Regions from separate parts of the Homo sapiens genome. Here region 1 is linked to region 2. Evidence: promoter capture Hi-C in human tissues and cell types (Jung and others, 2019). All regions are on one chromosome and are shown on one strand. The core of a region is centred on a gene start or on the middle of the fragment in contact, and the rest is flanking DNA. Distances in the headings are between cores, read along the strand shown. Region 1 overlaps MEIS2 (Meis homeobox 2). Region 2 holds the start of MEIS2 (Meis homeobox 2).

Region 1 (4,235 bases), core at 1,434-3,933, 130 kb before region 2:
TTAGAATAATATATGCTCAAATCTCTGGAGAAACTCTATTATATCACAATTAATGCAGAAACTGCAATCAAGCCAGGCTAATTTCAATAGATTCCAAGTTTTGAACAGTTCCTAGGCTATCCAAGTGGGAATTTGGCCAGGACGCTGGGGTTAATAATTCATTTTGAGGAGGGCTAATTCTTTGGGAAGCAGCCCACTCTGCAGGAGGAAACATTTGGCCCATATGAGCAAATTCGCTCTTTGAGATCACCATCTATTAGCTCCACAAGACACCATTTTTAGGGGGAGAAGGGGGAAGTAAGTTCACTTTCTCATACATATAGAAATATTTATCATGTTTTCAATAAATATATATTAATGTCAGAGAAATGGCTCAAGCATACACATTCTCAAGGAATAATTTTACAGTAACTTTTAATTACCATGATCTTAGTATCGCATCACCAGACGAGTATTATGGCTAAAAGTAGGGGCTTTGGAATCAGACGGTCCTGGCTTTTAATCTTGGCTTGGCAGATTACTTACTGTAAAACCTTGAAGGAGATACTGAATCACCCCAGGACTTGAGTTCTTCGTTTATAAAATAGGAAAATTAATGGTACCTACCTCATAGAGTTCTTATGAGGTTTAAATAAGTCATGTATTAATTGACCAAATGGATATTGAGTGCCAGGCACTGTTACAGGAGAGAAAAATCTCTGACCTCATGGAATTTATATTCTGGCAAGGAGTGAAGGTACTAAATGAAAAATACAGAATCTCTCTGGGGGTAACAAACTTCATGAAGACAAACAAGGCACTATACAGAGATAGAAAATAACTGGGGATGCTGCTCTTTTATGTAGGGTAGCCAGGGAGAGCATTTTGAGAAGGTGACATTTGATCATAGACAAGTGTAGTCAGAGCCAGCTAGGAAGGCAGGATGGCAAGGAGCCCAGAGCCCTACTGCAGAGTGAGAGGGGCTCAGTGGAAGGATGGGGGCTGGAGAAGTAGCTGGTGCCAGACCATCCTGGGCCTGTGGGTCATGTTAAAGGATGTAAGTACTAACATGGTGTCTGGCACATAGTAATTAAGCACATAATAAATAGTAGCTATTTATTTATTCATACTGGGTAAATACAGTCATAAATCAGAATCATTCCTTGTTTCCATTGCTCTGTCATGTAATGGGAGTTTTCTACATCAATCCTGTCATCCTCACATAGCGATATCCTAACACATTTTAAACGCTCATGATATCACTAGTATTTGTAAATATAAATATTTTGTGATGTGTGGTTATTCAGCATCTTATTTTCCTGTTGGTGGGTCTTAAAAGTGATTTTTTAAAAGGGTATGTTAATTGAATGAGGTGAGATAGGATGCAAAAAAGAATCTTCAGCTGGGACACACATAGAGGGAAGATGGATTAGGACAGTGTCCTTTGCATTTTCCCCAAGAACACCAGAATGCAGGTATTTTCCTTATACTAAGCTGATTTGGAAGAAAGTCTTTAACTGATCTTCATGTCTCTAAATTGACTACAAATTGGCCCCAGCAGTCACCACCTAGCAAGTACACAAGACATCAAATGGATCATTCATACACTTCCCAAAACCGGTATAGCTCCATGTCACCAATAAAACAGATTCTTGGCCTGCACTCTAAGGCCTTTCACAATATCCCAAACTATCTTTCCAAATTTATATCCCACTACTCTGCAACACAAATATAAAATCCTAACCAAACCACATTGTCTTCTCTATTTTATTCCTCTATTATTGCCACCAAAACCCCTTCCATCTTGCAGATATTCAAAATCTCACCATTCTTTCTCTCCTCCCCTTTTTCTATACACTGTGTTTCCCAGTCCCTCTATACCTCTCCTCCCCATGAATTGGGCATGACCATGCAACTGATCACTAGACAAAGGACTGTGATTAAGGGTATGTGTGCTATTTTGGGGGCTGAAGAATTCACTTGCTGCTATGAACTCCCCTAGCCCTCTCTATTGCCGCTGCAATCATGGAGGTACTTGTTAAGAGTGTGGTGTCACAAAGTGGAAGAAACTTTACATGCTGAGCTTGTATAAGGAGGACAGCCAGCCTCAGAGAATAGCCTGAACTCACCACTGATTTTGTGTGCCCAAGAAACAACTCTTTTGTGTTAAGCCACTGAGGTTTTTGGTGCTATTTGTCGAAGCAGCGTAACAAATCCTATTCTGATTGATATACATTTCTTCAAGATCCAGCTTCTTGATCACTACTTTGAAGTGATTTTTTCTTTCTCTGTGCTTCTAAAAAAATCATACGGAGAAAATTTTCTTTAGATGCTGGTTAGAAATTTCTTTGTAGGAAGAATCAGCTCTATTGAAAAGGATCTTTGATAAGCCTGTGGGTTGAAAAATAGGGGTTGAAATAAATCCCCCAGGCCTGTGTTTCTAATGGCAGGCAAGTTTCTTGTCAAAGCAGGAAGCTACTCAGCCTGAATTGCTGAGAAGCTGTGTTGAGAGCTGCCTAGGAGAAGAGGTGGAGAGGCGATTAAAGTTAAGAGGCGAGGCCTGGGAAGAGATTGCATAAAGGGAGTTTTTCAAGTGATACGTGTGCTATGTGATGTGACACTTCCCCTTGACACTAAAAGTCTTCAGCAAAACTAGAGAATTCACAAAATCCTTGATATGACTGGATTTCTTAAGGAAGCTGATGAAGTGGCTGAATTTTGCATCAAGGCTATGTTGGTTTAAAAGCAATTCACTTGTGCAGTCAAAGGAATCAGCTGATATCTGGGTCACACTTCATTTATATTATTCATTTAGGAGAGATATACATTATAGTACTTGCATTATAGAAACTGGGGGGTAAAGAGTAAGGTTCTCAATAAAATGAACCATATTTCACGCAACTCTTTAATTTGCATGTGCCTAGCTCAGAACTGTATAGTTGAGGATCTCAGTAAAAAAGTATCTATTGAAGAGATGATTGCTGCAGATCAAAACCAGTCCTCCTCACTTCGCTTTCTCATCTTGAAACGTAAACCGGCCATCATTTAGTTCTAGTTTATTTGGATTTTTTGTTAAAGACATTTGAAGAATATTCTATGACATTGCAGTCATTTTTACTTGTTAAGTGGTAGCAAGTATTTTAAGCCTTCATCAGCCACAACCTTCCTAATGGGACATTGTTGTATTTCTTCTCTTAGTTTGCACTCTTAACTGCATTTAATTATCTGAATTTTCTCAGGATGAAGAAAAAGAGCTCCCATAAAGGGTGAGAATTGAGAGGAAATGTAGATAAAAATGAATTTCACTATCTCACTTCCAGTTTATCTACTCTGTCATCAACATTAAAGTCCTGTTTTTGTCTCTTCAGAAAACCACATGACATTTGAGAATCTTCTCCTCTACTGCACAAATTTCAAAACCATCTGGAACACCTTCCTTCCTTCCTTCTCTCCACCTCCCTATTCGTCCATCCTTTTCTTCAAACACGAAAGTGTTTTTTCCTTATTTGGCTCACTCTTCCTATGTTTCTGAGCTCTTACATTCTATCTTAATTCTTTAGTTATTTAAAGGTATTGTTTATATGAGAACAAACTTATACATACATAGGAAAATTTGAAATAAATAATATTTACAGATAAATCCTCTGTAGTGTATATGAAAATTAAGAATCAACTTTTCTGACTTCTAATTTCAAATACTAATGAAAAGTAAAAGGGCAAAGATCAAACCAGTATATGTACACAGGAGGAAGCACTAATACAATACATATAAATCTACTTTTAAATTAGTATGTTTGCATTCTCAGTCAAGAAGACTCATGTCTGCTCCTTGTTAGTAAATTAAACTCACAATTACAATCTTTGAAGATCTTCCCATAATGAAAAACAATGTAAATTGCAGCTCCTCGTAACTTAAGACTTGAGAACAATGTCTTTTTGGCTTTTTTTTTCTTTTCGCAAAAAAAGTACAGATATAAGAAAACTATACAGGGCCCTTGTCTTCAAATATTTAATACTTCATTTACTTTTTATAGCTGGAGAATTCTGGATTATTGACACTGACTCTGTAAATAACCTAGCTATATAGACAGTCACGTTTACAAAGATTGAATGCCTGGTTAAAATGCTCAAATATAATATAGTTTTGTTTAAAAATGCAAACATTTGGTCAGGCGCGGTGGCTCACGCTTGTAATCCCAGCACTTTGGGAGGCCAAGGCGGGAGGATCATGAGGTCAGGAGATCCGGACCATCCTG
Region 2 (4,725 bases), core at 556-3,055:
GAGGATCCAATAAATCAAAAGGCGAAATGAAACAAAATAAAGAGAAGAAAAACGCTAATAATCAGCACGAGAACGCCGAGGACTAGGAAAGACTAGGGCCAGTGCCTCCCCGGGGGCAGGGAGCGGAGGGTGGGGGGGCGAATAACGTGAAAGTTACCAGAAACATTATTTAGCAGCGGATTCCCTGCGTCCTTGTCAATTTCAGAGACAAAACAAGCAGCCCAGGCTAGTAGTCTAGGCGGCGGCGCAGCGGCTGCGGCAGCGCGGCCCCAGCGGCGGCCCCGGCGGCGGCTCCTACGCAGCCCGTGCCCGCCCCGAGCCGCGCGAGCCACGGCGGCAGCGGCGCAGCAGCGGCAGCAGGAGAACCGGGGGAATCGCGCTGCTGGGGTAAAAGCTGGAGCGAGGCGAAAGCGTGTAACGATTGCACACGCACACACACACACCACTCACACGCACTCGCCGCCCGCCCGCTCGCACAGCGCTGGAACACGCGCGCCCAGACACGCACACACGCACGCACACACACTCGCACACACGCAGAGGCACGGGAGGGAAAGAAGCCGATGAATAATTTTGCTATTTTTTAAAATACTGGCCGCCATCATCAAGCAGCGAGCAGCAGCAGAAGCGTTGAAGGGAGAGGAGGCATCGGGACAGGCCCCTCTTAGGAGAGGATTTATATCTAGGTAAGTGTTGGAGATTTAAACCTACCCTTTGCGCCATCAGTCTGCGCTCCAATAAACTCCTGGATGTGTCGTATATTTAATATCCCAGTCCGGATAAGAAAGTGATCTAGGCTGAAGATTCCTTTTTTTTTTTTCCAAACCAAAGAGACTTCTCCCAATTCTCCAATATGCTATTTTTTAGGGGGGAAAAAAAGCCCAGTCTAGACAACGAAGAATTTTTTTTTCTGTGATATTTCTTCTTTTTCTCTTTTTTCCTCTTCTTCCTCCTCCTCCTGATCTTCCTCCTCCTCCTCCACCTCCTCCTCCTCCCCCCTCCCCTCCTCCTCCTCTTCGGTCCTCCTTTCCCCCTCTTTCTCTTCTCTTCCCCTCAGTTGGAAAAAAAAAGAAAGAAAAGAAAAAGAAGAAAAAGAAGAAAAAAATTGTCAAGCCCCCGAACTGAAGGTTACGAGCGGCCCGTCAGCAGCCCACATGTAACCGAACTGTCGTGTTTCATGGCTTTTTGCCACTCCAGCTGTCAATCAAAGCCCGGAATGTCAAGGTAGTGAATGAATGATGGTTGATGATGATGAAGAGGAGGAATCTTTCAGACCCGTTTTTTTCTTCCAGTAAAACTCCGCGAGGGGTTTCTGCTTCTTGAATTTTTTCCTCCCCCCTCCCCCCTTTTTTAGCTTTGCCCCCGCGGTATCTATAATACGATCCTCTCTCTTTAAAGTATTGTTCAAAGAAAGCAGTGAGAAAAATCAAGAAAAAAAAATGAATAGTTTGCAAAAATTGGACTTCCTCCCCCCCTTTCCTGGTAGGTATTTTGTCTCTCCCTCTCTCTCTTTCTCGCTCGCTCGCTCGCTCTCACTCGCGCTCGCTCTCTCGCGCTCGCTCTCTCTCGCTCTCTTTCTCTCTCTGGGAGATGAGTGAGTGTCAGTAGGTGTTGGCAGGTTGGCTGCTGCCTGGCTTATTGAAGAGCCTCAGTTTGGCGGCGCGGGTCGGCGGCGGGAGAACGAAATGACGGAACCCGGAAGTCGTGGTGGCCATAGCCCGTCGTACGGCGGAGACACATCCCGGGAGTGGGGAGCGGGAGCGAGGAGGAGCGCGCCGCGCCGAGCCTCTGATATGCAACGAGTGCGATCGGACAGCCCCGGCTGGGGGGGTGGGGGAGGCGGGGGGGCGGGAGGGGGAGGGGAGGCTCGAGCCGGGCGGACCCGAGCAAATCAGCAAGCCTGCTCCTCCACGGGGATGGGGGACGGCGGGGGGGAGGAAAAGGAGAGTGTGTCTGTGTGTGTGAGTGTGTGTGTATGTGTGTGCGTGCGCGCGTGTGTGTTGCGCGCGCGCGCGCGCGAACAGGGAGAGAGGGAGAGGGGGAGAGAGAAGAGGACAGGGAGAGCGCAGAGAGGAAAACTGCAGAAAACCACAGGGAAAGTACGGTACCGCCTCAGATCTTTTCATTTAAAAAAAAAAAAAAACTTACTTCTAGTTCATTTTCCCATCACTCCCGGCTCCTGCCTAACTGGGTCTTGCCGGGGACGTTTGGCATGGCGCTCTAGCTTTTGTTCCTTTTAATTCCGCGGCCTCCCTCTCCTCTGCCCGCCGATTACAGCACCCCGAAGGCTTCCTGCTAACGTCCAAGGGCAGCAAGCTCTGCAGACGGTACCACTGCCGGGCTAAATTTTTTATTAAGTGGCACTTTCTTTTCTGCGCAGATCCAGCAACCTTGTCAATACTCATTTTTTTCCAGGACCAGAAGAGACCAGCTTAACTCAGAGCACACTCCCTCCAAGCGGTGCGGACAAGGGGCCACCCCGAGAGTCTTTGGGGGCCGCGGCGGAATCGGGAGGGAGGAAGTGAGGAGGCAGTCATCTGGGTCCGATGTAGCCAAAGGCGTGTGTGTGTGTGTGTGTGTGTGTGTGTGTGTGTGTGTGTGCGCGCGCGCGCCCGCGCGCCCGTGCGCGCGCGCGACTAGTGTGCGTCTCCAAAGTGGATCTCACTCAGAGCTGGGAAGCACAGGAGGAAAAGACGGAGAGAGTGGGGGAGAAAGAAGTTGCCGGGCGAGGAGGAGTGGCCGGCGCTCACAGCCCAGCTTTGTTGTGGTCGCCCGAGGCGCAGCGGCGGGCCGCGGTAACGCCTGCTAATGGCTGTGTTAATTACACAGGGGCGATTTCGCGGGGTCAGGGAGATGGGGCCAGCTCCGAAAGAACTTTTCCAAAAAGGAAAAGGAAACGAAGGGAACTACCCCACACCGTTTGGGTGGAAACTAGTTGTGGCCGGTGCCCTGTCCTCCCTGGCCCGAGCTGCACCAGGCTTCACCTCTGCGCGGCTGGTTTCCCGGCGGCCGCGCGTCAATCACTACGAGCCCGGAGTTGGGGGCGGAGCCACGGTCACCCCGCGCAAGCCTTGCCGCCCAGCAGCCCCCATGCCCCTCGGCCCCTTGTGGCGCGGCCGGGCGGACAGGCGCTGGAAGCGCGTCCTCTCCCCAACTTCTCGCTCTCGCCCTCCCAGTCCCTGGCCCAGAGAGTGGAAAGCGGACTGTTGTTCTCCAACAGCCGCATCCCTCCCCAACTTTGAACCCATTCTGAGAAGTGGAGAGTAGTGTCTTCCGCGAGCCGCGTCTAACCGACTTTCCCGCGGAGGGAGGGTGGGATGGGGGAGGTTGATTAGAGAGAATAAAGTACTCTGTGTGTGTGTTGTGTGTGAGAGAGAGAGAGAGAGAGCGAGAGAGAGCGGGGAGGAGGGCGGGTGGGAGGGCTCTTTTTTTTGGCCCCCGTTCCATGTTCCCTGCTTCACTGTAAGCTTTCGAGCAACAGAAACTAGGCTAAGATTGCAGCCTGCAGAGACTCCAAGCGGAGTCGGAGAAATTTGGCCTCGTTTTAATAGGGCTGAGGAATGAACTCCGGAGGTCAATAAAGCCCTCCAAAAATGATGAATGATTGAGCACCTGTGATGATGATAGTGATTACCAGAGCAATTAAACAGTTTGATTAAATGAGCCATCATAACAATGATGTCTGCGGGAAATCGGCCCTCACATATAAAGAAAGATAGTGCGAAGGGGCTGGCAGAGGCGCGGATAGCGCGACGCCAGGGAGAGGGGCTGCGGGCCGCGAGGTTTCTGCCCAATGGCCCGAGCAGGGACGGCCAGACTCACGGAGCTTCAGGGAGGAGAGTGTAGCCCAGGTTTTCAGCCACTCTTTTTTGCCGGGCTTCAAGCCTGCTAGAGCCGACGGGTAGGAAATCTGAAGGTTGGGGGGAGGGTACTTCCTCCACGTCCTCTTTTTTTTCCTAGAAGAACTCCAAGATTAAAAGTATCCTTATTTGTTGCTGAGTTGCTCGTCGACATTTAAGAGAAGGTGAGTAAAAAAGAAAAGAAGATGAAAGAGAAAAGAAAAAGTTGGTCTCCAGAATTTTATTTCAATCGACAGTTACGCGAATTCAGTTTAGCCGGGACCGGGAGGTTTGAGAGTGCGGCGGGGTGGGGAGGGGAAAAAAACAAAAACGCTGCGGAGCGTTTTCGACTTTGCAAAGCTGTTGATGTTGGTGGGTCCAAGTTCCCGGTGCAGCGCCGCTGGCTGAGAAATTTGTACTCAGTTTTTACTCTTCTAATTATTCTTAAATTCAATTTAAGAATTTAAGTTTATCGTCGCCAATAGGATTATTGTTGTTTTAAATGTCTTGTTCAATAAGTGCCAGTTACGTTTCTTTTTAAAAGAAATTCCTCAGTGTCCTTGATAAACCTTTTTTTGTAAAGATCAACTTCATGCGGAACCTCTGCCTTGCAGGGTTTAAACATTCAACATTGCTACCTTCTGTTTCTTTTTCTGTTTTTATAGTGATACTGTAAAGTGAGTTAGCATCTCTATAGCTTTCATTTAGAAAAACTTAAGTCGCATTTTTAGAAAAATATTCCTTCCCTTGCAGTGTGAGTAAAAACAACTCAGACAGATTGATGATTTCTATATTTTCTTTTCTTTCTTTATCTTCTTTTTCTTTTTTTCTTTTCTTTTCTTTTTTTTTCTTTTTTTTTGAGACGGAGTCTCGCTTTGTCGCCCAG

The links. The method cuts DNA at HindIII sites, captures the fragments that hold promoters and counts their contacts. A contact is called where the count stands out against the background at its distance.
Region 1: a contact is called between a fragment that was not itself captured here and the fragment with the promoter of MEIS2 in region 2, in 1 of the 25 tissues and cell types used here (H1 embryonic stem cells).

Annotation. Positions count from the first base shown.
Region 1 is chr15:36,965,977-36,970,211 of GRCh38, forward strand. All of the region lies in intron 8 of MEIS2 (Meis homeobox 2), which reads right to left. Among named protein-coding and RNA genes, the nearest start is that of MIR8063, 4.8 kb to the right of the region's middle. The HindIII fragment of the contact is 6,570 bases long and covers 1-4,235 here.
Region 2 is chr15:37,098,744-37,103,468 of GRCh38, forward strand. MEIS2 (Meis homeobox 2) reads right to left here and starts at 1,806. Exons shown (of 12, transcript NM_170675.5): 1 at 712-1,806. The coding sequence starts at 723. It overlaps LOC124903465 (a long non-coding RNA gene), which reads left to right and starts at 505. Exons shown (of 2, transcript XR_007064581.1): 1 at 505-686; 2 at 1,058-4,725. RefSeq lists silencers at 178-377, 528-587, 3,037-3,176 and enhancers at 1,647-1,806, 2,057-2,336. The HindIII fragment of the contact is 11,980 bases long and covers 1-4,725 here.